Linked DNA regions of Homo sapiens: regions 2, 3 and 4 are each linked to region 1. Evidence: promoter capture Hi-C in 16 types of primary human blood cells and fetal thymus (Javierre and others, 2016). All regions are on one chromosome and are shown on one strand. Each heading gives the region's core, a stretch centred on a gene start or on the middle of the fragment in contact. The rest is flanking DNA. Distances are from core to core; before and after follow the strand shown. Region 1 holds the start of SGO1 (shugoshin 1). Region 2 overlaps RPL15 (ribosomal protein L15). Region 3 holds the start of UBE2E1 (ubiquitin conjugating enzyme E2 E1). Region 4 holds the start of UBE2E2 (ubiquitin conjugating enzyme E2 E2).

Region 1 (7,384 bases), core at 4,123-6,622:
CACACACTGTGCCACACCCAGCTAATTTTTGTATATTTAGTAGACGGCGTTTCACCATGTTGGCCAGGATGATCTTGATCTCCTGACTTCGTGATCCGCCCGCCTGGGCCTCCCAAAGTGCTGGGATTACAGGCATGAGCCACTGTGCCCAGCCTTGCACATTTTCTAATTGGATTGTTTGCTTTTTCCCTGTTGAATTTGGATATTTATATACTTATTATAAAGACTAGTCCTTTGTTGGATAGGTGGTATGTTAGTTTCCTAGGGCTGCTATTACAAATTACCACAAGTGGGGTCACTTAAAACGAAAGAAATTTATTCTTTCACAGTTCTGAAGGCCAGACGTCCAAAGCCAAGGTGTCAGCAGGTGGTACTCCCTCTGGAGGCTCAGAACGAAATCCACTCCTTGCCTCTTCCAGTTTCTGGCAGCTGTCGGCATTCCTAGGTTTGTGACATCTTTCCCTCTGCTAGTCTTCACATCACCCTCTCTGTGCCTGGCTTGTGGCCTCATGACTATAATTTCTATCTTCATCTTCACATTGCCTTCTCTCCGTATGTGTTAAATTTCTCTCTGCCTTATTCTTACCAGGCTGCTTGAGATGGAACTAAACACTGATTTTGATCGTACTCGACTATTCTTATTGTCCTTTTAATGCTTATATCCCTTTTAATGATCCATAAGTGTTTACTGGTTCATGATATCAGCACATGACACAAAACCAAAATTAGCAACAAAATAACATAGCATCAATAATTTGTGTTTCTAGCATAAAGCCTTAACAAAAATGACATAACTCTGGTATGTGTGTATGTATCCCTTTTCCTCTGGGACTTACACTCACATTAGCCATCACAAAGACTTCCTCACATCTGTATGTGGTAGGCCTTTAGACATTTGAATGATTTGACAAAGGTCAAAGCAACATCAATAAATGTAAATGTATTTAAAGTATATAGTATCATGATTAAGGACACAGGCCCTGGAGTCAGATTGACAGCAAAGCTTGTACCTGGCTTCATGCTTACTAGATTCACCACATTACGCCTCTATTTCTTCATCTGAAAAAATAGGTTTATAAGCTTTATCACAAGGATAAAATGAGTTAATTCATATAAAGCACTAGTATTTTCCTGGCAGAAAGTATGCCCTCATTCAGTGTTAGCTGTTATAATTCAACTAATTGTTCACATGTCTCGCTATGCTAAGAGAAATGGGAACCACTAAAAAAAAAAAAAAAAAAAAAGACATGAATTCCACTATACAATAAATAATAGCCTTATGAAAGCAATACATATGCATATTTCTGAAAAACACAAATGAAACATAAAAACAGCATAAAGTGCTATCTATTCCTTGTAGTCTTCTGCCCACTTTATGCATGTACAAACTCTCCAAAGCCTGTCACTATTGAGCTGAAGAAAGTACTAAACTAATAAAAGCAGACGTCAAAAAAATACAGTCACAAAACATTTTGATGCCTTGCTGTATTTCAGTTTTGAAAATTTTGGTCACCAAATTACTAATTTTTGTATTGCTATTCAAGTTAATCCGCACCACATTCCATGATAACTATTGTATTAAACTTTCTCAAAAAATTTTTTTAAAATATTAATTCCAGAGAGGAGACACATTAATATATTTTTGATTGTCAAATAAACAGAGAGGAGTTTAATTTTTTTCTTTAAAAATAAGGAGATCACAAGAGAACATGAACCAGAAAGAAATAATAAAATACAAAATAATAATATTGATAAAAATTCAGGAGAAGTCCAAGCATGGTGGTTCATGCCTGTAATCCCAGCACTTTGGGACGCCAAGGCAGGAGAGTGGTTTGAGCCCAAGAGTTCGAGACAAGCCCAGGCAAAATAGCAAGACCCTGTCTCTACAGATTTTTTTTTTTTAATTAGCTGGACATAGCAATGCATGCCTATGGTCCCAGCTACTCAGAAGGCTGAGGTGGTAGGATCACTTGAGCCTGGGAAGTTGAGGCTGCAGCAAGCCATGATCGCACCACTACCCTCCAGCCTGGGCAGCAGAGTGACAAACCCTGTCAGAAAACAACCACCACCACCAAGAAGAAATCAGAAGAAGATATCAAGTCTGTGCAGGACTTCAGCTCCGTAAATAAAAATCATAAAATCTGCACATAGTAATAAATGTTAGGAACAAGGCAGTTAAAGATTAGTAACAAGCAGTTTTATTGGGATTTTAGGAACTTGCAGGGGAGAATGTGAGTGCTCATTATATTTTAAATACATCATAAAGTTAAAACCAATGAAAGTAGAAATAACATGCATTCACATTTTGAAAAACCTTGAAAGTAATGCAGCTACAAATATTCACTATCATTTGAGAGCAAGCTTTTTAAGAAGTTAAAATGATTTGAATTATACCATAACTATTCTAAACATCTATTAAATTAAACAAAGAATTTTCACTAATTGGTTACCCTTTCATAGGTTCTTCTCAGTTTGTCAGCTAGATGATGTGTTCCTACACTGTACTTTGCGATATAATTAAACCATGGATTATCTCTGAATTAGGCTGGGTACAACTGTGATATAACAAAAGGGAGAAGTCGCAGAACATAGTCCAGCTGTTAATAGCATGGACTTTGGAGCCAGGCTTCCTGGGTTCAAACTCCAGTCCACCATTTAGTACTCTTTGAAATATGCATATTTTTGTTCAAAAAGGAATATGTGCATTCTTCCTGGGAAGAGTTGTAGTTTCCACAAAATTTTAAAAGAGCTATTGATTCCAACAGTAATTCAGTTCCCTAAAATCAGCGGCAGTAGAACATTTTGATGTACAAAAGTTACTCATGCTAGGACTCTGGTGGTATTTTCCCTCACTGCCCCTAAATTCAGCCATTTCTATTCTTTAGGGCTCTATAATAAACACCTGATTTGAAGTCTGACCCATTTTTAAATTGGGAACGGGGAAGACACCCCTCAAAAAGTCAGAACCTCAAAGCCTTTGGTCAGGGCCAGCTATATAATCTGTGTGGGTCAATGTGAAATGAAAATATGATGCTCCTTGTTCAAAATCCAAGACAAAAACCTTCAGCTTACCGATAAGTAGAGAAAGACTGAAAAGAAAAGGAATTGTGGAATGTCTTATCTTTCCTTTTCCTTTCATGCCATCACTTTTAGTGTAAGTGGTTAGAAAATATAGTAACGTGGTTGGGCATGATGGCTTAGCCTGTAATCCCAGTTTGGAAGGCTGAGGCAGACAGATCACTTGAGCTCAGGAGTTTGAGACCAGCCTAGGCAACATGGCAAAACTCTGTCTCTACAAAAAAATACAAAAATTAGGGGGCGTAGTGGTGGGTCCCTGTAATCCCAGCTACCTGGGAGGCTGAGGCAGGAGAACTGCTTGAACCTGGGAGGCAGAGGTTGCAGTGAGCTAAGATGATGTCACTGCACTCCAACCTGGGAGACACAGCAAAACTCCGTCTCAAAGAAAATAATAATAATTTCAAGAGGGCAAGGGTGAGCCCTTCTGAGCACTTTGTACTTAGGTCCCTAACTACAAAATAAGTGGTTCATGGAGGCCATTTAGTGCGCATCCTGAACATTGTATGACATGGGGCAAGAAACAGTGACAGACACACACATTGCATGAATCACATCTGCTCACAAGATTGCTCCATTGTCTCATCAGACATCACTTACAAAACATAAGTTCAAATATAAACTCCTAAGCATTTCAAGACGGCAACAGCAGAGCATTAAACCAAATGTACAGCCCTTCTAAGCACCGGTTGCCTGCTCATGAAGCTGGCCCTATTCTCTGCTCTCATGTTCCACTTCATAATTTTCTGACCTCAAACAACAAAAAACCTCTCTGCCCATTCCTTCTTGATGCTTCTACACATATAAGCCACATTGCCCAGTGGCAGTAAACTGAGGGTTAATGGAGTTGGTCTGGTTAACTTGGAAAACGAGGGAGTTGTTGGCTGGAGAAGGGTGTTTCAGCCTCTTCCACTCAAGCCAGGATGGGTACCCAGACTAGAGCAAGCATGTGTTAGCTACCTTTAAAAAACAACAACACACCTTCATAAAGAATGCCTAGATTCAAAACATTTGTTTCGTTTTCATTTATTTGTTCCTTTATTGTCCCAGTGAATATTTACTACTTACTTCAAATTGCAACGAGATGCTGACAATTTAGCTATGAACAAAGCAGATGTAGTTCCTGCCCTTATTCAACTTCAAGAAACAGGCAATGAACGACAAGTCAGTGTCACAAGGAATACCAAGGGGAAAATGCAGGGCACTAAGAAAGTGTAAAGCAGACACTCAGGGGCTTTAGGGGTAGATAAGTCTTTCTGGAAGAATTCATCTGTACAGTGAAACTTCAGTATACATAGGAGTAAGTTCGGCCAAGGGAAAGAGTGTTCTTGACAGAACAGCATTGGCAAAAGTGGCAAGAATTTTAAGAAAATTAAAGAAAATGTACAAGTGATGGAACCAGGAATCATGGGGCTCTTTAAGGACAAAATATCTTAAAGGAGTTTGAAATTCACCTTAAATGCAATAGGGAGCCATTGTAAAGTTTCCTATTTGATACTTGTTTTGTAAAAATATTAATCTATGAAGAATATAGGGAGTGGAGTCTGCGGTCAGAGTGGGTACTAGTGCAATTTAGGGAATGAGATTAGGCTGGAAGCTGGATTGGGGGGAAAAAGATGGGCATGAGAGAAACTTGGAAAGCAGAGTTGAGAAGATCGTGTGACCGACTGGACGGGCAAAGGTTAAGAGAGGATAAATAATCATTAAGGACGATTTCTCAGGCTTCTAGTCGGTAACTGGATGGATGTTGGTGCCATTTCTCGAGAAGAGTTAAAGAGCCAGAGATAGCCGGCAAAGAGAAACATGGAGCTAGAATTTTCAGGTATCTGCAGTTTCCCTAATACCTTTTTAATCCAGAATTTGCTCCTTGTTTTGGTTTTAATTCCTCTAAAAGCTGCTTCCGTGTTGCAAGCTGGCTGACCGCTTTAACAGGCAACCAAAGAGATTCTTCTCACAAGAGGGAGGCTTTGAGCACAACCCGGGACATTTGAAGCTGTCAGACTGAAGAAACAGGAAGCTTTGAACTACCTATCACACTCGGCCTTAAAGGTTTCGGAGTAACTCCACCCGTAAAATCCCCACGACTCTGATTAGAAAGTCCCGGCGGGTCGCCGAGACCCGACCGCAGGCTCCGCCCCAGGGCCAGGTGGATGCCCGGATGTGGACTTGAGCGAATGTGCGTCACGTGACGTCGCCTGGCGGGGCGGGACTCTGCCTGCGACGGTGGTGTTGGGTGCATCCTGCGCCACGTGACCGCCTCCCAGCCAACCAATGGAGGAGCGAGGCGGAAAATTTCGAATGTGGCGGCGGTAGTTCCAGGCGACGGCGGACGGTGGTACGGTCCTGGAGGGCCCAGTGCGCGGGGCTAGCCGTGGCTGGAGAGCTTCGAAGAGCCTTGAAATGTGAGGAGGAGGAAGATAGCTGTTGCAGAAGTAGTGGCCAAGGTATCGTTCTGGACGCGCCTGCGGCAGGAGGGTCGCCGCGTCCACTTCCGCCAGCCCCACCTCCCCCCGGCCTTCCTGGAGTCCCTGAAAGAGGAAGAAGTAGGTTTTAAGGTGCGAAACAAGGGCGTAGTGATCCCTGTTTGACTTCCCTTCGGTTTTCAGTATCATTCTAAATTCGGTGGCCGAAAGCTCGGGCCGTGGAGTCCCACTCGCCGCGCTTTTCGCCGTTCAGCCACTCGATCTGCGCTTTCAGATGTTCCGGCTTCCATGGAGACCCTAATTTCCTACTTTGCAAAATTGTGTAGATTAAGTGATGTGCAAATAAAGCTTTTACAATAGCTAAAAGCCTGGCTCAACGTAAGGACACAAGAAAATTGACAGCAGTTCTTTGTGCAGCGTGATACCGTTGACGTCCTCCTTGTCCAGGCCATTCTCTTCCTCACTTACCCTGGAGAGGCCGGCACTGACTAGTATCCTACCTGGCTGTCTTCGCAGCAGGACTAATTGGAGAATTATGGACGGAGATCAAATATGCTAGGTTCTTTAAATCCAGAGCGCTTACACGAGTACTGTACAGATTGAGACCGTCATCTCGCGCTGTGGTCTGTCTTTGCTTTCATCCCTTCTGTCTACCACACCCCCTGCTAATAACCATCGCCTTATTTAGACAGGATATAAAACTTTTGATATGGCAAGTTTCTTTTGTGATTTTTAACTTGATTAAAAGTAATAACGAAAGCTTTTTAGGTAAGGCTTTGCCTTTAAAATACCTTAACTAAACTAGATCCGTTACTTAATCTGTATGACTCTCAAACATCTCCAATTCTAACTTAATTGTGTAAAACAACCCCTTTACCGTTCGTGCTTTTAAAAATAGCTACCCTATCTCTGCTAGGAACCTCCCAGTACATATTGTATATACCTTGGTAGAAAGAAAGTTCTTAAGTGGTATCTACAATACCTATATTTAAGATTCCAGACACTGCATAGAGGAAAATAAGGCCTGGAGGAAATACTCAAGATTAAGTGTAAGGTTTAGGAAAATATTTGACTATCGTAGAGGAGATGAAGATATCCTTTGTAGTGAAAATTCTGTGCATAGATTGTTATTGGAAACAAGTCTTTTTTTTTTGCAATTTTAAGATCTGCAAAGTGCAATCTAGCGTAAAAGATGTTTGTGAAAAGTGGTTTGACATGTTTAGTAGCATGCTAAAGCCTACCTGATTTGCAACGTTGAAAGATTAAGTATAGTTATGTATTTAATACTCAACGTTTAACTGTATGTACAACAATATTTAATGTCTGATTTGTTATGTTCATAATTTACTGGGAGTTAACAGCCCTAACTTTTAGCCACAGTTTGAGAATACTAGAGTGTTCCTCTGCCCAAGTTCCTGCTCTAGCTCTGTACTTGTTACAATAGCCTATTAAAATTGTATGTAGTGCTACATAGTTTAAACCTCTAAGGAGTACCTTGACTTTCTTGAGACTGTGTGCATATCATAAGTGATAATTGCGTTTAAAGAGTATGGAAAAATAGTTGAATGACCTAATCTGATGAATTAATCATTAGAGAAGAGCTGGAAAACAAAACCCAAATATATAATTGCCTCAGAACTAATGCTGTAAGCTTAAGCAGTAAAAGTTGGTCCTAAACATTTTCTATAAAAAGTGTAAATAATGCATCAAAATATAATAATAAGCATTTTCAATAGTGTCTGGCATATACCCCACAGTGAGTATTTGTTAAAGAATGAATAAGTGGCATATTGTGGAATCTTTGGGTTGGAAATCTATATTCAATAAACCTTTTCTATAAAGTGCCTGAGGAGGAAGAGAGAATATCAGAAATATGAATGAGATTT
Region 2 (7,384 bases), core at 3,141-5,640, 3.7 Mb before region 1:
CTAACTAACTAGGACTGCCAAATAATGAACTTCTCTCCAAATGACAATGAGAATTGCCAATAAATGAGTTCAGATGTTCACAGCATGCCAATTAAATCAAATGCTTTCATCAGTTTTGGAGGAGTGAGTTGCCGTTTGCCAGGATTTCAGAGTGAGCTGAAGTGTGCATTCCAGCTACAGCATTTCGTTAAGTTTGAATGCTTTGATTATGAGGTTTAATGTCACAAGCCAACTATAGCACCTTCGCAGTAGGTTTTTTTTTCTTTCCTCAACTAAGAAATATAGAGATGGGGGCCTCACTATGTTGACTGGACTGGTCTCGAACTCCTGGCCTCAAGGGATCCTCCCACCTTGGCCTCCCAAAGTGCTGGGATTACAGACGTGAGCCACTGCACTCAGCCTTGCAGCAGATTCTTCTTTTTCTAAAGAAAACTTGAGCAGCATTTTATACTAAAAGGCTTTATTTTCAGTTTATTTTTCTTATATAAAAATAGGTTGAAAACTATATGTATAGTGATGATGTTCACTGCATCATTAATAAGAATAACTAAAATCGATGGAGAAGCTAAATGTCTAGTCAGCCTTCCCAAGGCTGAACTGGAATGATGTTGGGGCTGTGGAGAGTGTTGCTTGGTTAAAAACTGCGACATGGATTTCATCCTGTTTGGGGCAGCTGATGGTCAAAGTGTAGCTTGTTGGTGCATGTCACCCCCTATTGGTATTTCAGGCCAGCTTGATCCTTCTAGGACAAATCCAAAGAATTGTTTCTTCTCTGAATGATGAATATTTATAAAACTGATTTCAAAGGTCCAACAGTTTGGCAAAAGATGCAGCCAAATTGCAGCAAATGGAAAACTAAAGGTCTTTTTCGACCAAAACCTTTTTTCTTAGAAAAGGTGTTGTAGCAGTTCATTCTTCTACAGTTTGTACCATTGGGATAAAACTCTTATCAAAAACTTCTAAAAACCTAAAATCGCCCTGACAAAGGAAGTGGTAATTATACAATTAAAATATCTATAGCAACAAATACTATTCTCATATGAAATCTATACATCAAACTTTTTACGGTAAAACTAGACTTCATATGCCTCATCTTCATCTACTAGAGAATGACACAAAAAAAAAGAAGAGGAAGAAGAGGAAGAGGAAAGAGAAGGAGAGAAAGAGGAAGAAGAGAAAAAAGAGAGAAGAGGAGGACGAGGAGCAAGAGGAGGAGGAGGAAGGAGGAGGAGGAAGAAGAAAGAAGAAGAAATAAAGAAGAATTTCAAGGGTCTAAGTCAGTACTATGGCCGGGCGCCATGGCTCATACCTATAATCCCAGCACTTTGGGAGTCCAAGGCAGGTGGATCACCTAAGGTCAGGCGTTTGAGACCAGCCTGGCCAACACGGCGAAACCCTGTCTCTACTAAAAACACAAAAATTAGCTGGGCGTGGTGGCGGGTGCCTGTAATCCCAGCTACTTGGGAGGCTGAGGCAGGGAGAATTGCTTGAACCTGGGAGGCAGAGGTTACAGTGAGCCAAGATTGTGCCACTGCACTCCAGCCTGGGCGACAGAGCAAGACGCTGTCTCAAAAAATAAATAAATAAATAAAAATAAAAATAAATAAATTGGCACTATACAACAGAAATTTCTGTGATGGTCAAAATATTTTCTGTGCTGTCCAACGTGGTAGCCAATGTGCCCACTGAGCATTTGAAATGTAACTAATATGACTGGAGAACTGACTTTTAAATCCTATTTAAATTTTAAAAGTCACAGATGGCTAGTGGCTATCATATTGAAAAGCATACAGCTAAAGTATTTTTCAGTGAATATTTGTGGGTATACAGCAAGGAAGCTATCACATAATAAAGTGTCAAATGAATTGGTTGCAGAGTTGTATGCAGATAACCATATTTTACCAAATGAATTAACTCAATAAGGGAATGCATTGTCTGTAGGAGAATTGTAAAACAACAAAAACTGAGTAAAAGTACATTTATTTATTTATTTATTTATTTTTTTGAGACAGAGTCTTACTCTGTCAACCAGGCTGAAGTGCAGTGGCGCAGTCTTGGCTCACCGCAGCTTCAACTTCCCAAGCTCAGGTGATTCTCCCACCTTAGCCTCCTGAGTAGCTGGAACCACAGGCGCATGCCACTGTGCCCAGCTAATTTTTTGTATTTTTAATAGAGACGGGTTTCGCCATCTTGCCCAGGCTGGTCTCAAACTCCTGAGCTCAAGCAATCCGCCTGCCTCGGCCTTCCAATGTGCTAGGATTACAGGTGTGAGCCACCAAGCCCAGTCTCAGTATGTTCTTTTTCAACATCATCATATTCTGGCAATGCTAAGCAATGTCAGTGACAAAATACTCTCTCTACCAGTGTGGACTGCGCTGGTTCCTGCTTTCTCCTTGGTATACTAGCTGTTTTCCATAATACTTCAAATGGGTACAAAGACTAAAGAGAAACGAAATGGATTAGTGTATGTGGTAGACATTAGAGCTGTTCACAAATATTTGATTCTCTCTCTCCTTCCAAGCACTGGAAGATATCACTTCCCCACCCTTTGAACCCAGGAGTAGCCATGGGACAACCTGAGCAGAAGCTTTACAGGTTAGGGTGTTCTACGCCATGCTCTTTGCCCTCTGCCATGGACACCTCGCAATGTTCCAGATAGTGTCTGTTCTAACAGTCTGGATTCTAGAGTGAGAACAATCTTTAACATACATGAAGTATGATCAAGAAACAAATCTTTATTATTTTAAGCCACTGAAATTTGGAGGCTATTACTGTTGCCTCATTTAGTCTGCCTGATACAATATAGCTACTAATTTGGTTTAGGAATTTCAGAACTTAAAGATGAAATCAGAACTTAGAATTGAAAGGCGAAAATGAACAGTTGAAATTTGAAGAATTTATTCTACATAAAGTTACCTTCAAGAATCTTATGAGCAGGGCCAGGCTTGGTGGCTTATTCCTGTAATCCCAGCACTTTGGGAGGCCAAGACGGGCGCAGATCACCTGAGATCAGGGGTAATAGACCAGCCTGGCAAACATGGTGCAAACCCGCCTCTACTAAAAGTACAAAAAAATTAGTAGTGGCGCACACCTGTAATCCCAGCTACTTGGGAGGCTGAGGCATGAAAATCACTTGAACCCAGAAGGTGGAGGTTGCAGTGAGCTGAGATCGTGCTACTGTACTCCAGCCTGGGTGACAGAGACTCGTCTCAAAAAATAAGAATCTCATGAGCAGAAAAATTATGAAGCATAGGAGAAATGAGCTAGCAGCTCCTTCCAATTTATTAATATAGCATGGTACATAAGGGAGGGGGGATTCTCTGATAGAAAAGTGGAAAGCCACTGTAAAGCAAACATAAAAAACGCTTTTAAATGTACAAATAATGCTCAACTTTATTTATTGAATTAGTTAGGGCTAAGCTAGGCTATGCTGCCATAATAACAAAACACAACTAATGCAGTCGTTTGACACAATAAAATCTTACCACTCATGCTGTCTGATGCGGTTGAGCAGCTTTCACCCATCTTGTATTAATAGCTATGCTATCTGGATCACTGGCTTCCACAGTTGTGGGAAGTGTGGAGGAGGCATACCAACTGTTGTTTTTCTTGGAGGGAAGTAATATGACCCCAACCTAAATGCATGAGAGGCCAGGAAAACAATGTAGTTTAGTTGTGTTTTCAGGGGGAGAAAAAGCTATGGTATGCACATAGCTTTGCCTCTGCCACACTCAGAATGCAAAATAAAAGTAGAGAAGAGTATCATTTCCCCCTAACAGACTGGCAGATATCCCAAAATTTGATTACATACATTAAAGAGGGTGTGGATAAACAAGTCCTCTCCTACTTTGCTGGTGGTAGTGAAAATTGGTTCAACTTTTATGGAAGACAATTTGGCAATATCTATAAAAAATTATATACATACAATTTTTAACTCTGCCATTCTACTTCTAAGAATTTATTCTACAGATGAATAAAGATGTATGCACACATTTTTCTTTTTGTAATAGCAACAGATTGGAAGAAATTTAAATGTCCATCAGGAGGGTCCACATCCAATGAATCATGGTACATCCACATGATGGGATACCATGCAGTTATACCAAAAGAATGAAGTTCCAGCCGGGCACGGTTGCTCATGCCTGTAATCCCACTACTTTGGGAGGCTGAGATGGGCGGATCACCTGAGGTCAGGAGTTCGAGACCAGCTTGGCCAAAATGGTGAAACCCCGTCTCTACTGAAAATACAAAAATAGCTGGATGTAGTGGCAGGCACCTGTAATCCTAGCTACTCGGAGGCTGAGGCAGGAGAATCGCTTGAACCTGGGAGGCAGAAGTTGCTGCGAGCCAAGATTGTGTTACTGTACTCCAACCTGGGCTATAAGAGCAAAACTACATCTCAAAAAAAAAAAAAAAAATGAAGTTCCTCATGAGCTGATAAAGAATAAGCTCTGAGATACATAACTAAACAAAAAAATCAACAATGTGTATCATATCCTACCACTTGGGGAAGAAAAGGAAAAAATACATATGTAGGCCAGGCACCGTGGCCCACATCTGTAATCCCAGCACTTTGGGAAGCAGAGACAGGAAGATTGCTTGAGCCCAGGACTTTGAGACCAGCCTGAACAACATGGTGAAACCCTGTCTCTACAAAAAATACAAAAATTAGCCTGGCATGGTGGTGTGCACCTGTGGTTCCAGCTACTCGACAGGCTGAGGTGGGAGGATTGCTTGAGCCAGGAGGTTGAGGCTACAGTAAGTTGTGAACGCGCCACTACACTCCAGCCTGGGCAACAGTGAGACCCTGTCTCAAAATAAAAAAATATTGTTAAACTGATCACCTTGCCTCCAGGGAGAGGAACTAGGAGGCAGAAGGGTTTGTACTGTAGAGCCTATACTTATCTTTTGAATTTTTAACGTTAATGTATTATCTATCAAAAACTTTAAGTTGGCCACGTGCAGTGGCTGACACCTGTAATCCCGGCACTTTGGGAGGCCAAGGCGGGAGGATCACCTGAGGTCAGGAGCTCGAGACCATCCTGGCCAACATGGTGAAACCGTCTCTACTAAAAATACAAAAATTAGCTGGGTGTGGTGGTGCGTGCCTGTAGTCCCAGCTACTCGGGAGGCTGAGGCAGGAGAATCGCTTGAACCCGGGTTGCAGTGAGCTGAGATCGTGCCACTGCACTCCAGCCTTGCGACACAGTGAGACTCCATCTCAAAAAAAACCAAAACAAAACAAATAAACTTTAAGTGTATAGGATTTGAATTCAGACTGTCACTGTATGACTTTGAGCAAGTTGCTTCATCTTTGTGTTTCCTCATTGGCAAAAAAGGATTAATACTAGTAACTGCACCTTTTGGGATTGTAAGAAACCAATTGTTATTTTTGAGACAAGTTCTGGCTCTATCACCCAAGATGGGAGTGCAGTGGTGTGATTTCGGAGACTACAGGCGTGCAACACCATGCCCAGCTGATTTGTTATTTTTTGTGAGATGGGCTCTCACCACGTTGCTCAGGCTGCTCTCTAACTCATGAGCTCAAGCCCACCTTGGTTACCGAAAGTGTTGGGATTGCAGGCGTGAGCCACCGCACCCAGCCAATTGTTGTTATTACTAAAGTAAATTTGGGCCCGGTGTGGTGGCTCATTCCTATAATTCCAGCACTTTGGGAGGCCAAGGCAGGATTGCTTGAGGCCAGTAGTTTGAGACCAACCTGGGCAACATAGTGAGATCCTGTCTGTACAAAAAATAAAAATTGGGCTGGGGGTGGTGGCTCACGCCTGTAATCCCAGCACTTTGGGAGGCCAAGGCAGGTGGATCACTTGAGGTCAGGAGTTCGAGACCAGCCTGGCCAACATAGTGAAACCCAGTCTCTACTAAAAATACAAAACTTAGCTGGGCATGGCAGTGTGCGCCTGTAGTCCTGGCTATTTGGGAGGCCGAGGCAGAAGAATTGCTCAAACCCGGGAGACAGAGGTTGCAGTGAGCCGTGATTGCCCCACTGCACTCCCACCTGAGTGAGAGTGAGACTCCATCTGGAAAAAAAAAAAAAAAAAAAAAAACTCAATAATCAATGTTGCTGTGTGAATTACATGCCAATATAGAAATAGTAAAGCAAATGGGAACAGCTTGTGGGGCGGTCAGGGTATAGCTAATAAAGTGACCCTTAATATTGGAGTAAAGCTTTCCCATCATAAAGGCATTAGGAAGTGTTTGGTGTATTTGAAGAACAAACAGCAAGGAGCCTGGGGTGTGGACTGCAGTAGGACATGAGGTCACACATAAAGTGGGAAGATCATGAAAGCTATCATGAGGACTTTTGATTTTTTTGCACGGGAGTGCCATGATCAATTTAATAGGATCCCTTGGACTACTGTGTGGAGATAAAACTGTTGGGTAGCAAGGACAGGAACAAGGTTTTCTTGTAGAGACAATGCTGACCTTTGGCCCGAACCCTTTCTCTCCTTCCCAAATTAGTCATGTTTAAGGATTTTTTTTGTTTTTAGGTCTCACTATGCTGCCCAGGCTGGCCTCAACAAATCCTCCAGCTTGTCTCCCAAAGTGCCAGGATTACAGGCCTGAGCCACCACACCCAGCTGAACAGTTTTAGATAAAAACCTAATTCATGCAATGATCAAAGAACTGAGAGAATAAGTACATTTTATGCTATCTCAAATTATATTATTTCTATAATCACATTTTGATGCCTTTTTGCTGGTTAGGGCATTTGGTTTGCTTTAAAGTACATTAGCACTGTAAGATGACAAAAAATAACAGAAGGTCCATTTGTTTTAGTTTAATAGACATTTATTCCTTCAGTTGAACAACCTCTACACAATTAAAATGTATGACTTAAGATCTTTTCTTTTTTTGTGAAGAAATTTAGGTCTCAAGAACTTTTATGAACTTGCTATGAGTACTTCCTGGAAATCAATTAACTGAGTCTTTTGAAACCCCTAGAGAAGATAGGAGAAAATTGGTTCAGAACGAGCATTTAAATTAAGTCAGCAAAGTCAGAATTTAAAATTGGGCAATTCCTTGTCTACATTTTCTTTACACTCAAATTGACCCTGGACAACAGTAGTCTAGTCTCCTGGAAGACATGGTGCAAACAGAAATGCAATGTGGTGGTATACTCATAGTCAAAGTGGGTGCACAAGTGATGGTCCAACTTTGTGGAATGGTAAGGATTTTTAGGGTTGTTTGGCCAGAACAAGAGAAATAACTGCAGAAAACACATATGGTTGGAAACCATGCGCTTGTGACTTTTTCTGTAGCCTATGGGAGTGGACAGAGTGGGTAACCCAAGATGTTTTTAAGACTGACTGGACTAAGAATGACGTACTTATAGCCAACTACTTTCCCCCTAATGTGACTG
Region 3 (7,384 bases), core at 1,634-4,133, 3.6 Mb before region 1:
GGAATGTACATGGATTCCACACAAACAACCAAGGGAAGCTACAGGCTTCCACGTGAACCACCACCATCAAAATAATGAGTTAGGCCTAAGTCTTATGGTTTTTCCACTTCTCAACCATCTTGAGAGATTATTAGCCAGGAAAGAATTCCCCAGAATGATTAAGTGTTCCAATTATAAACTATAGTTTAAGAGCATTTCAAACTCAAAATGACTTTCCTTACAAAACAGGACAAAGTTTCACGGAAGAGCATCCCACACCTAATCAACATTAAGAATGAATGTAACCAAAACGGCAATAGTTTTGTATTTAATCCACTAATTAGTTTCCAAAGTTCACTGTTACTAAACAAAATACTTCATTTAGCTTTTCAACCTATTCCCACACACTCATCTTAAAAATTGTGTATAGCCGCTGAATACTTTGTCAGTAACTTCTACTCCTACCAATAAGTTTAGAGTATTTCTGAAATCTCACATCCCTTTCCAACGCCGATCTTGAGAACTAGGTTAAATGTTATACTTAATTTTTAAAGTATGGGAGTTACAGGACCTCCCTTAAATAAATGGTTCTATTCTAATACATAGTTGTAAGTTACCCTCACTTCATTGTTGATCTAGTAAAGTCATCAAGTCTTCCACCTTGACTCAACAGTAGCAAAATGGCTTCTCTAAATAAAGCTGTGATCAACAAACCCTTAGAAAGCTGGTTTCAATTTGTTTTGAAACTGAAACACACATATGTATACAGTCTGAATAAAGCAAGTGAAAAAAACACCCCATGAAAGTTTAACTCTACAATTTAAAAGAAAACCTTTATCAAAGCCAGAAATTGTTTCCTGAATTGCTCTGCCAAAAGTCTAATAAAAAATCTATATGCTATGGAGTAAGTTTGAAGATCCAGTGTTTAACTCTAATGTTCTCTTAGCTTAGCAGAGATTGAATAAGAGATTACTGTAGCAAAGCAGTTTTCCAAACCAAAATGTCCTTCGCATCTGAAAGGTTTTACATCATCTTTAATGGCATATCAAAGACCCATGATTAGGCAAGGAGACACCTTTAAATTTACTTTAGTTTTGTTTCATATATGTAAAAATCCACTCCAAATAAATCCATTACTTCTTCTCAACAGTACTGAGCTTGTCAGAGGCTCATCAAAACATTATACTCAGGTTAATAAATTTCAGCTGTTACGTGATGTTAGTGCCATAACAAGCATTAGCCAAAGAATCAAAGAAAAAGTATATAATAAAAAGAAAAACCCAAGACAAAGGTTAGAAGAATTTTAAAAATGGAAAAAATCCGAAAAGCAACTCACCTGCAATTAGGTGGAGGGTCTAAAGTGATGTCCGCCAGCTCCTTCTGAATTCTGGAGTGGGAGAAATGGGAAAGACAAACACAAGAAGCATTAAGGCGCGGAAGCCTCCCACCTGTAGCGTGCAGGTCTGCAGATAAACCTAAGCGCGATCACTGGATTCTACTGGGCAAAGAGGAACTACACATCAAGAACTTCAGGTCCCTAGTTTAGGAAAAAAACTTTTCACGGAGGAAGTGAGGCAGCCTGGAATCTCCTGTTCTCATCTGCAAAGTTTGGCTTCCAACCTTGCCTCGCACACCAGGGCAGTTCTATTCCTCGGTGTTTTCCATGTAGGACCTAATTTTAAAGTTTCTCACTTGCCGACCGGTTTCCTCAGTCCCTCCCCTGCACCTCTCCCCAGCACGGAGAGATCACAGCCATCGGTGCGTGGGAAGGACGCCAGCCTCCAGCCTCCCTTGCCCCTTTCACCCCTCAGATGCCCCCATGCCCACCCCGGCAGGGCGCCCCCGACAGGCCGAAGGTCCGAGGCCTCGCTCAACACCCGACCCGCCCGGAGTCCTCAGTGACGAAGCCAACATGGCCGCTCCCCACGAGGCCCCTCGGGCCCGAGTGACCTGCCAGCCGTGGCGGGGTGCCCGGGAGGCCCAGACCGCAGGTCGCTCCCCAGCGGTGGGCTGCCACCGCCCGGCCACGCCGCCCCCACCCCGCGCGCGCCCCCGACGGCTCGCGCCGCGCCGGTGAAGTTGCGGGCGGGGGAGGGGAACAGGGTGCCCGCACGGGGGCTGCTCCGCGCCGCCCCAGCTCTCCTCTCCCGGCGCCCAGAACCTTGGCCCGAGACCGCGCGCGAAAGCAGGGCGCGAACACCCCCGCCCGCCACTCGGGCACCACAGACCCCAAGTGGCCGGCCCGCGGCCGCACAGGTGCACCGGACCCTGCCTCCGCCCCGCACGCTGGCCGGGACTCTCGGCCCACCTCCCCGGACCTGCTTTTCCCCGGGCGTCCTCTAACTTCCCGGGGTCTGCCCACTTCCTTCATGGTCCGCTCTCTAGCTCACACTGGGGATAGACTGGAGACCTGCAGTTTTCTCCCTCCGCACCAACCCTCGACTTCACAAAGGGCCCCATCCCCCACTCATAGGCCGAAGCCACCAGGCAGTTCACACCAAGCCCTGGCCTTTGTCTTTTGCTTACCTAGGCACTTAGAGCATCAATTAATACGACAGTTTAGGGCCTCTAAGCTTCTTCCACCTTCTAAACGGTGCCTAATTTTATAACCTTTCCTCCTCCTATCATATAAAGCCCAATGGGGCTATGTTACAACTTAAAAATCTCACCGAGGCAGCACTGTAGTTAAAAAAATTTTAAACACACACACAGAGCAATCTAATTCACAAAGGATACGTTTTCCTTTCCAAAGGTTTTCTGCGGGTAGGAGGACGGACGAGCTATATGTAATGAGGAACAGGTTTTAAGGACGACGACTGGGGGAGGTTCTATAAACCTTCCTACTGGAGGACATTTCCTGTCCCTACGTATCTGTCAACTTTAGAAAGGGGTTTGTTCACAATCTCAATTGACACGTATTTGTGTCCTGCTAAATTCTACTATCAAAAAGCGTTTCATTTCTGAGACATTCATACTCCCGCTGTTTGACTCATGACTGTACATTAGACTCAAAGTTTGGAAAATTGGTTTCCTGATTCTTTACCTGAATCTTTTCAAATAACTGTATTTTAAGACCTACACACGTAGGCAAAAATTTCCTCCCCGGAGCACAACGCATATAAAAATACATATTGACTTCAGTCCTCCTTGCCAACCCAACTCCCACTATAAAATAGTCACAAAAAAAGGTAGTTGTTTCTTTAATACCTAAGAAGCGTTAATACCAAAAAGCTTTATCAACTTCATCTTGACAGACAGCATTTGCATTTCCAAAAAACTGGCAAGAGATTTGCAGGAGTAACTCATACCTATTTCCAGAGAGTCATTCTTGTTCAGACCACTTGCAATGGGGGCTTTCCTCTACCCACGGTTTAGAAACCACTTTCCAACATGCAGTTAGCAGCCTGTTAGTCTGCCAATTCAGGCTTCTTTTTCACTCCTACTCCTGGTGAATGTGCCCCTTCCAATTCTATGGGCAACACCTACCTTCCAAATCAATATACTTCACAGAACAGCCTCTATAGGGTCCCACTAACATCAATTTTCCCCATTCTCTTTCCTGGATACACTGTCCCTCTCCATTTTTTTACCTTTTTCTATTAACTTTAGGTCTGCTTTAACACTAATAGCTACTCTTTCAGCAAGATTATCAAGGAGCTAAATTCATTGCAAAAACAAAACAAAAGCCCTGATGTTAATTTATAGGTAAAATTACTATTTGTAGCTTCCCACCTTTCATTTTTCTACACCTATCATCTCTTTTCCAGAACTTCCAAATAAATTCTTAACTTGTTTAAAATAAACAAAGTATGTCTAGTGAAAAAAATCCCCCTCTCTGTAATTCACTCACAACAAAAGCAGAGTATTTTCTATTTGATACCTGTGTCTTTACCCCCAAATATATTCATGTACACCAGGGATATCTAGCAAAATATAAAAATGCAAATTACCAAAAGCAAGTATCCTGGCTTGAGCACGTGAGGCCAAAACGTGAATGAGGATCAGAGAGCCTAGAGGATTGAGGTGGGGCGCAGTATTAAGGAAGGGCCCGTCCCAAGTGGGCAGAGTAGATGTCAGGTTCCAGGAAAACCGCACAGGGCTAATCAGTGAGGGTCAGTCAGGCCTCCTGAGAAGCTGTACAATCAAACCAAACCTATAAAAATGAGAACAATCTTGCAGAGGCACCTTGCCACTTAAGACCTCCACACTATTTTTTAAAAGTCACTCCTTCATCAGCCCATGGTTAGGTCACCAAAACACTGCCAAGTTTTCAAATTACAAGTCAGGGAGAATGACAGAACAAACTCTCAAACCCTGACTTCCAGGCTCACTACTCAGTGGAGAGATCTAAAGTCTCATGTTCTACTTTATTTTAAAAATTTTTAAGAAGGGTATCCCTATCCCATCATTTGGAGTTCTTACTATCTTCCTGGTTTGCCACCTTTTTAACAACTGCCTAACTCTGAGAGCAGAAGGATTTATGAAAGGGTGTCTCAGAGCTCCTAGGAATCCACTAAAGATGATTTTGAGGGTCATGGCGATCAGAGGATATTACTGAAGGATGGCAGGGGTAAAAAGTAGCTACCTCCAGAGGCTTAAGAGGAAAAGAATAAAGAAAAAGGGTGACCGCTTAGGATGGCAGGGATAAAAAGTAGCTACCTTCAGGGCCTTAAGAGGAAAAGAATAAAGTAAAAGGGAGACCACTTAAATTGAAAAAATAAGGCAAAGTAACATTTTCACAGCATGAGGACAGCAAATAGCATGAAAAAAAGACAAGTCTCCCTGAAATTGGTAAACTGAAGTTTTTAAAGAGAACCACAAAAATAACCTAGAATAACCATTTTATAGTCACTTACTGATTCATTCATTTGCCTCAACTCTCAGAAAAATCTCTTTAAATTCCACCAGAAAACATCTGTCTTCACCTACTAAATTTTGTACCTGCTAATATGAGTTTCTTATTCCTTATGCAATTTGTGAAGAAAGCTCTATTTAGAAAAGATCATCCATGCAACAGGTGAGGAGAAGGTAAAATGGTCACAGAATTCATTTTGATGCAGTTCTCTGGGCTGGTATTAGTAATTAAGAAATGGGATCATGGCCTTGGGGAAGGTCACAGATTAACCATTAGTAGGACAAGAAATCTGAAATCAGATTTGGGGGTCACTAATAAAAGTAACGAGGAATCTTACAAACTTCAGCAAGAAATGCGAGAGGCAAGCCGCAACAGCTGCATGTGAGCAATGATTTAAAAACAGAAGCAGCAATAGAGAAAATAATTAGGGCTTCCAAGGCCCTTCTTTCATTTTTAAGAACACATAAACCATGAGGAGCGTTTAAGCTATCCTCATTGGGAGGCAGACCAAATGCAGCAAGAGGCAGTTCGGAAATAGGAAGCCTGTGGAAAAAAAAAAGAGCACAGTACCTCTTGGCGCTGGTGGAGAGGAGTTTGGAGTTTTTGCTCATGCTGACTTTACTCTCCTTCTTCTTGGGGGTGTTTGTTTCTTTCTCGGTTTGCTGGTTGGAAGACGAAGATGAGGAGGAGCTGGTGCTGGCCCTCGAATCGTCATCCGACATAGCGAACCCCCCACCCCACCCCGCAAACAGCCCCTGCAGGGGGAGAGAAACAAAACAGAAACACACAAACCATGCAGCCAGTGTAAATAAGGAACTCGGGTGCTGTCAGGAGGGCATTGACCAGGGGCGCACGCGGCCGCCCACCGCCCTCCACTCGCTTTTCAAAGTCTGCAGGCCCATTAAGGCTTTTGCAAATCGGACGCGGCTTGTTTATTTTTGGCCCCAAGTGGGGAACGCTGTGGGAAAACGGTCTGGAGCTAGGAGAGAGGCCCCTCCCTCGCCCCCCGGGGCTCTCCGCTGGGCAGGGAGGGAGTAGCCCGGGAGGCGAAGGAGGGCAGGGCGGGGGGCGCGGGGCGCCACGGCGGGGCAGGGAGGGAAGGTCCCGGCGGCCGGCCGGCCTCGGGGCTGTTTTTGTCCGCTTTCCGGGGGTCGTGAGGGGCCGGTGGCCCGGGTGAGACTGTGGGGCCACGAGCGGAGTTTGGCGAGGTCGGGAAGAGAGGAGGGGCGGGAAGGAGTAAGAGAGGAAGCCGAAACAGGGGGACGGAGGCGGGGAGCGGGTGCCCGGGTGGGGGAAGGGAGAGGCCGGCGGGGGGCAGGGGCGACGAGGCCCGAGGCCCCCCCGCGCCGCGCCCCGACGCCCCTCCCGGCCTGCCTGCCTCTGGCCGCCCTGCTCACAGCTATGCGGCCGGGCGGGGGTCCGGAGCACACGCCCGATCGCCACTCCTGTAGGGGGATAGGGGCTGCGGCGGGGAATGGGGGGGTCGGCCTCCGCAGCGAAGACATAACAATGAGCCCTTCCGCCCCGGAGGGGTTAATCCCCGCGAACCCCCGCCCCTGGGGAAAACGGGGCTCCCCCAACTCCCTCCCACCCCCGCTCCCGGGCCCCTCGGTGGCCAGTGGGGGGCTCTTGGGGCAGCGCTGACAGTTCGAGCCACAATGACCCCCGTCCTCAATGCGGGCGGCCCCCGCACCCCACGCGGCCCGGGGTCCCTGCCCATCCCCCGCGGGCGGGCCCCGGACCCCTGGGGCTCCCCAGCCCCTCTCCGCTCCCCCCCCGCGCCGGCCCCGTGCCCTGCGGCCCGGCGGCCCCGGCGGCGCGAGTCGGGGGAGGCGGCGAGGGGTGTCCCCGAGGCCCGGCGGCGCGGCCGGGGGGCGGCGGGCCGCTGGGGGGATCCCCGTACCTCTCTTTGTGTCTGGCTCCTCCGTGCCGCCGCGGCGGCTGCTGCTGCGGCTGCGGCTGGGCCTGGCCACTCGTGTCTCTCTCTCGCTGGGAGAGAAGCGGAAGTGCAGCAACAGCAACTATTAAACAGGCAATGGCTTCCCCCAGCCACACACGCTCGCACACACACCACTCCTCCGCCGCCGCCTCCTCCTCCTCCTCCTCCTCGCCCTCACCCCTCCCCCACCCGGCCCGGTCCCACCCACCCGCGCTCCCCTCCCCCTGCAACACCTCCTGGGGGTGCGCGAGGAAGACCCAGGAGACCCCAGGAAACCCTGTCCCCCACAGACACCCCCACCCCAGCGCCTCCTCCGGACGCCCGGGAAGGGGGCGAGGGTTGTGAATTTTCTCTTAAGTGGTTTGGGAACCTGGATTCTGGGCGGGAGAGGGGAAGCCGATGGAGATGGGGGGCGCTGGGAGTGATTGGAACTAGATGGAATAGGGGGGTCACGAGAGAAAGTTCTTTCCAATGAGGGCTTTTGGAAAGGAGAGGAGTAGGGAGGTGGCAAATTGGTGAAAACGTTGGTAATCTGGTGGTGGCAAAGACTTTAGAGAATGCAGCGGGTACTCCACCTAAAAAGCGATTAAAGAGAAAAAAAAAATCACACA
Region 4 (7,384 bases), core at 2,763-5,262, 3.0 Mb before region 1:
ATTTCCTCAATACCTTGATATTTAGGTAGCTGTTATAATCTAGACAGCAGACACAAACAATTCCAGTAAGTGAAAAGGAGTATCTCTCCTCAACTGTCATTCTATCATAATCAATTTCTGAGTTTGATGACTATGAATACATCCCTTATGAGCTGACTAGCTTAAAGTGTTCTGACAAATCCAGAACTGAACCAACAAAACTCATGCCCAGACTCTAAAAGGCCTTGTGCTCCCCATGGTTTTGTCACCTAATAATCACTTTCAGCACTGTATAGCTATCTTCTCAGACACCTTTTTAAAAACAAAATACCTATACTTAATAAGTACCATTAACAGCAAAAAATATATCTTTAAAAATTATAGGTACACTGAACAAATTCCTTTTGAAATGGATCCTTTTGATTACTCTTAATCAAATTACAACTTGAAATAAAACTGTTTCTGATATGATCAAGAATAAGAACAGGTAAAGATACCTCAAATAAAGCAAAATTTTTTAATTACTATAACTTAGTCCAAATGGATAGCTATTTGACACTGATGAAAATTCATCATCACTAAAGATTTAACTTGTAGCTTGCTCTAAGCCAAAGCAATGTTGTAACACCGATCTTTAATGGACTGAAATTTTTGTAAGACAAACCAAAAAGCACTGCAAAAGAATGGAAGCATCAGGAAGCACAGAGCCACAAAGAGTCAACAGAAAATAGTGAATCCTTTCACTGACACACCACACACACCACCACCAGCACCCCTTCAACCCCAACAGCTCCCCATGCCAAACAGAAACAGATCTGCCCCAACAGCTCTGAAACATACTAACGGAAAAGCTGACTACTTTTCTACCTATTCTGTAAATGAAGAGCACCAGTCTCCACAGCTGTGACATCTTTTATGAGCACTAAAGTCACTTAATAGAACACTGAAATTTTATATCAGTATGTTTCACATCTAGCTCTAAAAGTCGTAACATATTTCTTGCTTTTTTTCATTTTTATTTCACTCTAAATTCTCATTCTTGGATTTAATATTTTTTTTCACCTTCTTTCAGTTAAAATATATCAGAAGTTTAAAATCTTGTAAGTATGTACATAATGGCATATCAGATAGGGCGGCATGCATGAGAGTGAAAAAGAGAACAATCCTCAGGGAAAGGTGCTCAGATATAGCAAAATGCTGCCAGCAATACCTTAAGAAATGTGAAATGAGTGAGAAATCATTTTATACATTTTAAAACAGGAGCAATCCATTCCATGACAAATATATGGGTACCTCAATGAAATAATATTCTCTATACTGAGGATGCAGCTTCAGCGTAATAAACTATGATTTAATAAACTATGCTGAGAGTTTCAGTTGTGTATAACATTAGTTATAAAGCCACACATTCTTCTCAATATTCTTATTTATGTGCATTTACATACTATCGAATGCCATAGTTATATAATTACTTAAAAAGATTACTCAATGATGTGATCTGAGCCATAATCTGAAACTCAAATTTCTACTGCCGAATATTAGAGGAAGATTAAAATAAAAATTAGTCTCACCAGAGAACTAATAAAAATACTATTAGAAATTCCCCAACAGAGGTGTAATTTCTGGTTTCACATTAAGGAAAAGAATTATTCCCACTTTTGAGTTAAGACATATTTCATCCAAATGTTAACCTACAAATGATAAGTCCATCTGAGGCCATTGATAACCACTATAGGAACTTTTAGAAATAAAGTTTTCACATCTCTTTTTCAAATATCAATAATAAAAGGAATTTCTCCTGGGTTTGTTTTTTGAATGCTTGATTACAGAAAAAGTATAGAAAAAAATTATTGTACCACTCAGGTGCAACGAATTTTTATGAAGAAAAAGTAGTCTATGAATCAATTTAATTAGTCGTAAGTGTAAACTTGATGTCTTGTCTCTCTGAAGTACAAATGAATAAAAATTCCTGAATTAAAATCCTTTAAACATTATCTTCTAAATTAGCATTTTAAAATTAATTCCTAAATAGCTAATCTGATCCGATTATCTCATCTACAGGGAAGATAAACTTAAATCCCAGGGTTATAAACAAACAGCTACTCTCCAATGATACTTTCAAAGATATTGAGAGAGATAAATACGCTTACTTCATAACTCAAAGTAAAATTTAATTTTTAACCATAAAATAAGTAGTCCTTCCTAAAACTATATTAAGAGGCTTACATATTGTTACTTCTTCAACACAAACTGTCTAAGCTTGTATTAGCTATGTACCCTATGTTGTAATTACAGTCCTGGAAATTAGCAACATACAGTGAATGAAACTCACATGTTCCATAAAAATGAAATGATTTGGCTTGAAATATTACTGACTACATAAAGGCAACTATAGTCATTCCATAAATCCAGCCTACTACCCAGGTAAGCCTTATAACAGTATCTACTAGTATAAAACTGCAAAACCAAGTGTTCATTTAAGCTTTTATAACAGGAAAGCGTTTAATTCTGTCATATATGTCTTGCTGTCTTCCTACTCATGTTTCTAAACTTTTCTAAAATGTAAAATAAATATATAGTATATGCACACAGCAATATCCAGCTTTAAATTTAACTGCAAAGACATTTATGCAGAAAATAACAGTGGAACACCTGATTTGGGGGTAAAAGGTGCTGCAGGGGAAAGAGAATGGGGTATGGCATTATATGAAAACACTCTATTTCAGCGTCAGCCCACATACAGAATTCCAAAGAGCCAAGGAGCATCCAAATTGCCGTAGTAAAGGCAAATATTTAGATTCACAAAGTCCAGACTGAATTATCACATATCTAGAAACATACTTTTTAAAGAAATCAGGGATTAAAAACTAAGAAGAGCGTAAAATCCTTTAGAACCGCGAGATACTTTGAGGGTAAACCCTAGCACTTCCTTTCGTACTTTTAAATAAAAATATTTTAGTAGACTCTCAAGAATACACAATACAAAACGATGAATCTTGAAAACATGCAAATGGGTCTAACAGCCACCGAGCACAGGATGATGTCTTTCTAAAGCAGCCTTAATTTCCTTAAGGGAAGATGGATTGGACATTTCTGGTTGGTCGTGGGGGAAAAAAGCCACAAGAAGCCACGCTTTATCTTCATTAGAAATGGTAAAGGGCAAAAAGATCAAAACATTATGAGAGAGATCGGAGAAAAGAGGGGGAGAAGTGGGGTGGGCGGGAAGGGGGAGAGGACAGAGGGAATCCAGTTTCAAACCAGGCCAGTGGGGGCTGCAGAGAAGAGACCAGAGAAAAATGGGCTTCGGTTCCAAACTGTGACAAGCGCCAGGCATCACAAAAGACCAATACAACACACACCCCTCACCAGGACACACACAAATATACCCCACAAGGTCTTCTCCGGGCGGGCCACCGGGGTGCGGCGGCGAAGGAGCCAAACCCGGCACTCGCCAGGAGACACACCATGTGCAGCAATTATGCAATTAGGGAAAATAGCAAAAGATCAAGCCGGGCACTTTCCACCGTGACATTTATCCTGTACTTTTGAAAAGACTTAGTTCCAGGATGCGGCTAGGAGAAGGAAAGCGCTGGGAGGGTTGAGAAGGATGGGGAACTGAGAACGGAAGGGGGTAGAAGGAGGACAGGGAGAGAAGAGGCAGAAGGGGGGGATGGGAAGAAGGGGGAGGGGTAGAAAGGGCGAGAAACGGGGGCAGGAGGCTCGCGGGAGGGGGCGTAGGGAACCGGGCACGGGGAGCGAGGAAGGAGGGAACTAGGGCACGAGCGGTGTAAGCAGAGACCTGCGACGCGGAGGGGAGGTCGGGGGAGTGAGGAGGACGTCAGCGAGAGGGAGGACGCCCGAGGAGGGGAGGCACCGGCGCGGCCCGAGCGAATACCTGAGGGGGGGGTGTCCGTGCAGGTCGCAGGCTCGAGCCGAAGCCCTGGGAGAGAGCTGCCCAGGCGCGAGGGGGAGGGAGACTGGGGAGGCCCCAGGGACGGGATGTCCCCTGCGGACCGTCTAGTCACCGAAAGCCGGACCCACGCACCACGCACCCGACCACGCCTGTCCCCGCCGCGCTCGCGCCCGCCCGGACTCACCCTCAGCGCCGCCGCTGCCGCCGCCCCCGGCCGTTCCAGCTCCGGCTCCTGAGGCTGCTGCCCGCGGCTGTCGCTGTGGCTGCCCCTGAGTCCTGGAAAGTGAAGCCACCACCTCCGGGAGCCGCCGCCGCCCGGCCGTCCGCGCGCGCACCCGCGAGTGCGCGTGCCTGCGCGCCCGCCCGGGAGAGACCGCGAGAGCGCGAGCCCCACGTCGGCCATGCGGCGCCGCGCGCCTCCCTCCTCCCCCCGCCCCTCCTCCTCCGGCGCGCGGCCGCGAGGGGGCGGGGGCGGGAGCGCGCCCGGGCGGGCTGCCCCGCCGGTCGGGAGAGGGGGTGGGGAGGCGGCGAGGAAAAGTAAAGTGACAGCTGGGTCCCGCGCGCAGACTGGGCTCTGACGGGGGTGAGCGAGGGGCGTCCCACGGGGAAGGAACGACAAGGACGGGGAGAAGTGGGGGAAACCGAGGCTGACGGGGTGGCTTGAGGGGAGGGGACGCGAGGACCTTGCCGGGCACGCGCATTAAAGGGAAACGCCGGCTGGGGGTTAGGGGTTACCCCAAGACGGTGCAGGCAGTGGGACGAGGAGGCCTTTTACCCCCATCCACCGCAGCCCTTGACTTCACGCTCGCCTCGAAGCTTTCGCAAAGTAGATACGGGGACTGACCCTGTTGACACACTAACCCAAACTCGCAGACGCGTGGGGCTCGCATGTACCCAAGACAGGAAAACTTCACGTTGGCCTGGAAACTTCTTCCAGGCTAAGCCTGAGTCTTCACCAGACACTGCAGCACGAAGGCCCTTCTGCCTTTTGGCTCGCCCTGGCCCAGAATGCGCACCAGCCGGTAGAGAGGAGCTTCGGGCCGTTTAGCCCTGGGGTATTGAAGAGAGGGGTGGGGGTACAGGGTGCACCACTGTCAGAGTGAGTGGGAAGCTGCCTTCATGCCCAGTTGAAGGATATGGGAACAGTAGCAGTGCTGTAGGTGGCATGAGGGAACATTAGGTTCCGTTGTACTCCTCATCCCAAATAACCGTTTAAAAAAAAAAAAAAAACGTACCTGCTTTGCGAACTTAGCTTCCACGAAATTTCTCCCACTCCAACCTCCAGCCTCACTTACCAACGGAATGCTGGGTCGTTGGCAACGGGGTGTCCAGGGATGCAGCAAAATTAACTTCTATCTTTGTGGAGGAAAGGATTGGAAGATCTTTCACTGCTTAATTGCTGAAATTATGGTTGCTACAGTACTTCATTTGACTGTAGATGTTTTAACTGCTATTTACTAAGTTCAAAATGGGTTTAATACAAATCAGTTACCCTTTTCATTTATTCAAGGAATATTTATTGATACCAGGCACTGTCTAGGTGGTAGATATATGACATTGAATAAAAGAAAAAAATCCTTGTCCTCAGAACTTCCCTATGTCTGAACCTTCTCTGTTGTACACTCAGCATCACATTCGTCAGCAAATTCTGTTGACTCTGTTTTCACAAATATATGGTGAAAATGTCCACTCCGTCTCACTCCCCTCCCCACTGCTAATGTCCTGGTCTAAGGCATCATCTCTCAATAATTATCTCCTACCTGATCTTTCTACCTCCCACTCTCCGCCTCCTCCCTCCCCAACACCTACACACAGCCGACTGTCCTTTAAAACAAAGATTAGATTATGTCTCTCTTCTTCTCAAAAATTCCAGTGGCTTCCCATCATAGAGCAACAGCCAAAGTGCAAAATATGGATACATGGCCTGCATGATGTGCCCACCATTCCCAGCCAGGATTCCCCTGACCTCAAGCTGTACGATTTCACTCCATCCTCGTCTCCTTCCAGCCACACCGGCCTTGCAGTTATGGACACACCAAGCATTCCTCAGCCTCAAGACCTGTGTACTTACTATTTCCTATCTCTAGAACATTCTTTCCTCCCACTCCTCCCCCAGAACTTCCTATCCACATCCTCTGCTTTTTCTCCATGATCACCACCTGACATAATACATTTTTTTACTTATTTATTAGTTTCCCCCTTCTGCTTTCTTTTTCCTCCCTCTCCCAGCCCTCCCACGTAAAAGCACCTTGAGAAAAAGGATTTCGTCGTCTGGGGTTCAGTGCTGTATATATTCAATAGATAATGACCGAGTGAAAGAAATTGGTCTCTTTCAGTTGATGACACAATAGGTATTGTTTCTAATTTCTTCAATAATTAGTACTTACCGTGTTCTTAATTTGTGCTAGGCAGCATGCTAAGCACTTTAGTTATACTAGGTCACAACCACCACACAGGTTGGTTTTATCCAATCAGCCCCACTGTACAGATGAGAATACTGAGGTACGGAGGGATTAAGTCACTCACCTACAGTCACATAGCTAGTGAGGAGCAGAGCTGGGACTCGAAATCAGCAGTTTGGCTCTGGAGTCTGTGAACTTAAGGACACTTTACCATGAGTCTGGTGTTACAGACATAAATATTTATTTGATTTTCTCTATTTCTCTCTTCTGCGGTGCAAACTTGGTCTCCAAGACAAATAGCTCATCTTCCTTATATTTTCTGCTCTGGTCCATCAGTCTGTCGTCATGAACTCACTCCTTTCTTACATTTCTTATTTCTGATCATTAATTTAGAGCCTACGTTTTTTCCCCCTGCAACTGGCAAATTGGAATGTTTTTTGAAGGGTCCTTCTTAAAACGTTGTTACTGCCAACTTCGTGAGTAAGTAGAGCCACAGTTAGTTTTCCAGTTTGACTGGATGGGTGATAGAAAAGACCTCTCTCAGGGGAACTGGGCTGAATTTGAGCAGAAGCATTATACTGGTAGAGCCCTGCTACTTATTTAGGCAACTTCTGTTCTTGTTAGGCACCCAATTATCAGGGGTTATTACATATTTATATTATACCCTTTGAAAGAAACATCATATTAGCTCAGGTTTTCCAAAGAATGGGATAGAAAACAATGATCTGTTGCATACTGTCTGGCTTGAAGGAGGCTGTAGTCACCCCGAATGTTTTGGATACTTAAGGGCAACAGTGGTGTAGGAAAATTGAAACTCCAATAGAACTGCAACCCCATTACCTACCTAGTTCAGTACCAACGCAAAGGTACGACCAGGTGCTTTAAAAAAATGTTTGTTTCATAAATAAATAAATGAAATTCTAGCAGGGAATAGAAGTGTACTGAGGACAAATTCCCCTGACTTCCCCATTTGTTCAGGAACTGCTACCTGGACCACTATGTATGATCGTGTATTTTGTACACTGCAAAGTATCAGGGGGTGCCATTCATGTAAATTAAGATGCAAACATAGAAGTGTGGCTGCTCCTCT

What was found. The method cuts DNA at HindIII sites, captures the fragments that hold promoters and counts their contacts. A CHiCAGO score of 5 or more calls a contact.
Region 2: a contact is called between a fragment that was not itself captured here and the fragment with the promoter of SGO1 in region 1, in 2 of 17 cell types (non-activated CD4 T cells and naive CD8 T cells). The highest score is 8.2, in non-activated CD4 T cells.
Region 3: a contact is called between a fragment that was not itself captured here and the fragment with the promoter of SGO1 in region 1, in 6 of 17 cell types (non-activated CD4 T cells, naive CD8 T cells, naive CD4 T cells and 3 more). The highest score is 17.8, in non-activated CD4 T cells.
Region 4: a contact is called between the fragment with the promoter of UBE2E2 here and the fragment with the promoter of SGO1 in region 1, in 3 of 17 cell types (erythroblasts, fetal thymus and non-activated CD4 T cells). The highest score is 6.6, in erythroblasts.

The regions. Positions count from the first base shown.
Region 1 is chr3:20,184,194-20,191,577 of GRCh38, reverse strand. It overlaps SGO1 (shugoshin 1), which reads left to right and starts at 5,372. Exons shown (of 8, transcript NM_001199251.3): 1 at 5,372-5,630. It overlaps SGO1-AS1 (SGO1 antisense RNA 1), which reads right to left. Exons shown (of 4, transcript NR_132785.1): 4 at 5,463-5,603. RefSeq lists enhancers at 4,895-4,954, 4,975-5,654. The HindIII fragment of the contact is 754 bases long and covers 5,095-5,848 here.
Region 2 is chr3:23,920,255-23,927,638 of GRCh38, reverse strand. RPL15 (ribosomal protein L15) reads right to left here. Exons shown (of 4, transcript NM_002948.5): 4 at 6,650-7,384. It also overlaps a transcript of NKIRAS1 not described here. Among named protein-coding and RNA genes, the nearest start is that of RPL15, 6.8 kb to the right of the region's middle. The HindIII fragment of the contact is 3,602 bases long and covers 2,590-6,191 here.
Region 3 is chr3:23,805,442-23,812,825 of GRCh38, reverse strand. It overlaps UBE2E1 (ubiquitin conjugating enzyme E2 E1), which reads right to left and starts at 6,871. Exons shown (of 6, transcript NM_003341.5): 1 at 6,738-6,871; 2 at 5,405-5,589; 3 at 1,316-1,366. The coding sequence starts at 5,556. It overlaps UBE2E1-AS1 (UBE2E1 antisense RNA 1), which reads left to right and starts at 5,921. Exons shown (of 2, transcript NR_046652.1): 1 at 5,921-6,007. RefSeq lists silencers at 1,914-2,233, 5,746-5,925, 6,126-6,425, 6,616-6,745, 6,826-6,935 and enhancers at 2,704-2,763, 5,356-5,445. The HindIII fragment of the contact is 658 bases long and covers 2,555-3,212 here.
Region 4 is chr3:23,199,955-23,207,338 of GRCh38, reverse strand. It overlaps UBE2E2 (ubiquitin conjugating enzyme E2 E2), which reads right to left and starts at 4,012. Exons shown (of 6, transcript NM_152653.4): 1 at 3,875-4,012. UBE2E2-DT (UBE2E2 divergent transcript) reads left to right here and starts at 4,346. Exons shown (of 2, transcript NR_136176.1): 1 at 4,346-4,475. RefSeq lists a silencer at 3,852-4,541 and enhancers at 4,892-4,951, 4,364-5,339. The HindIII fragment of the contact is 2,247 bases long and covers 2,464-4,710 here.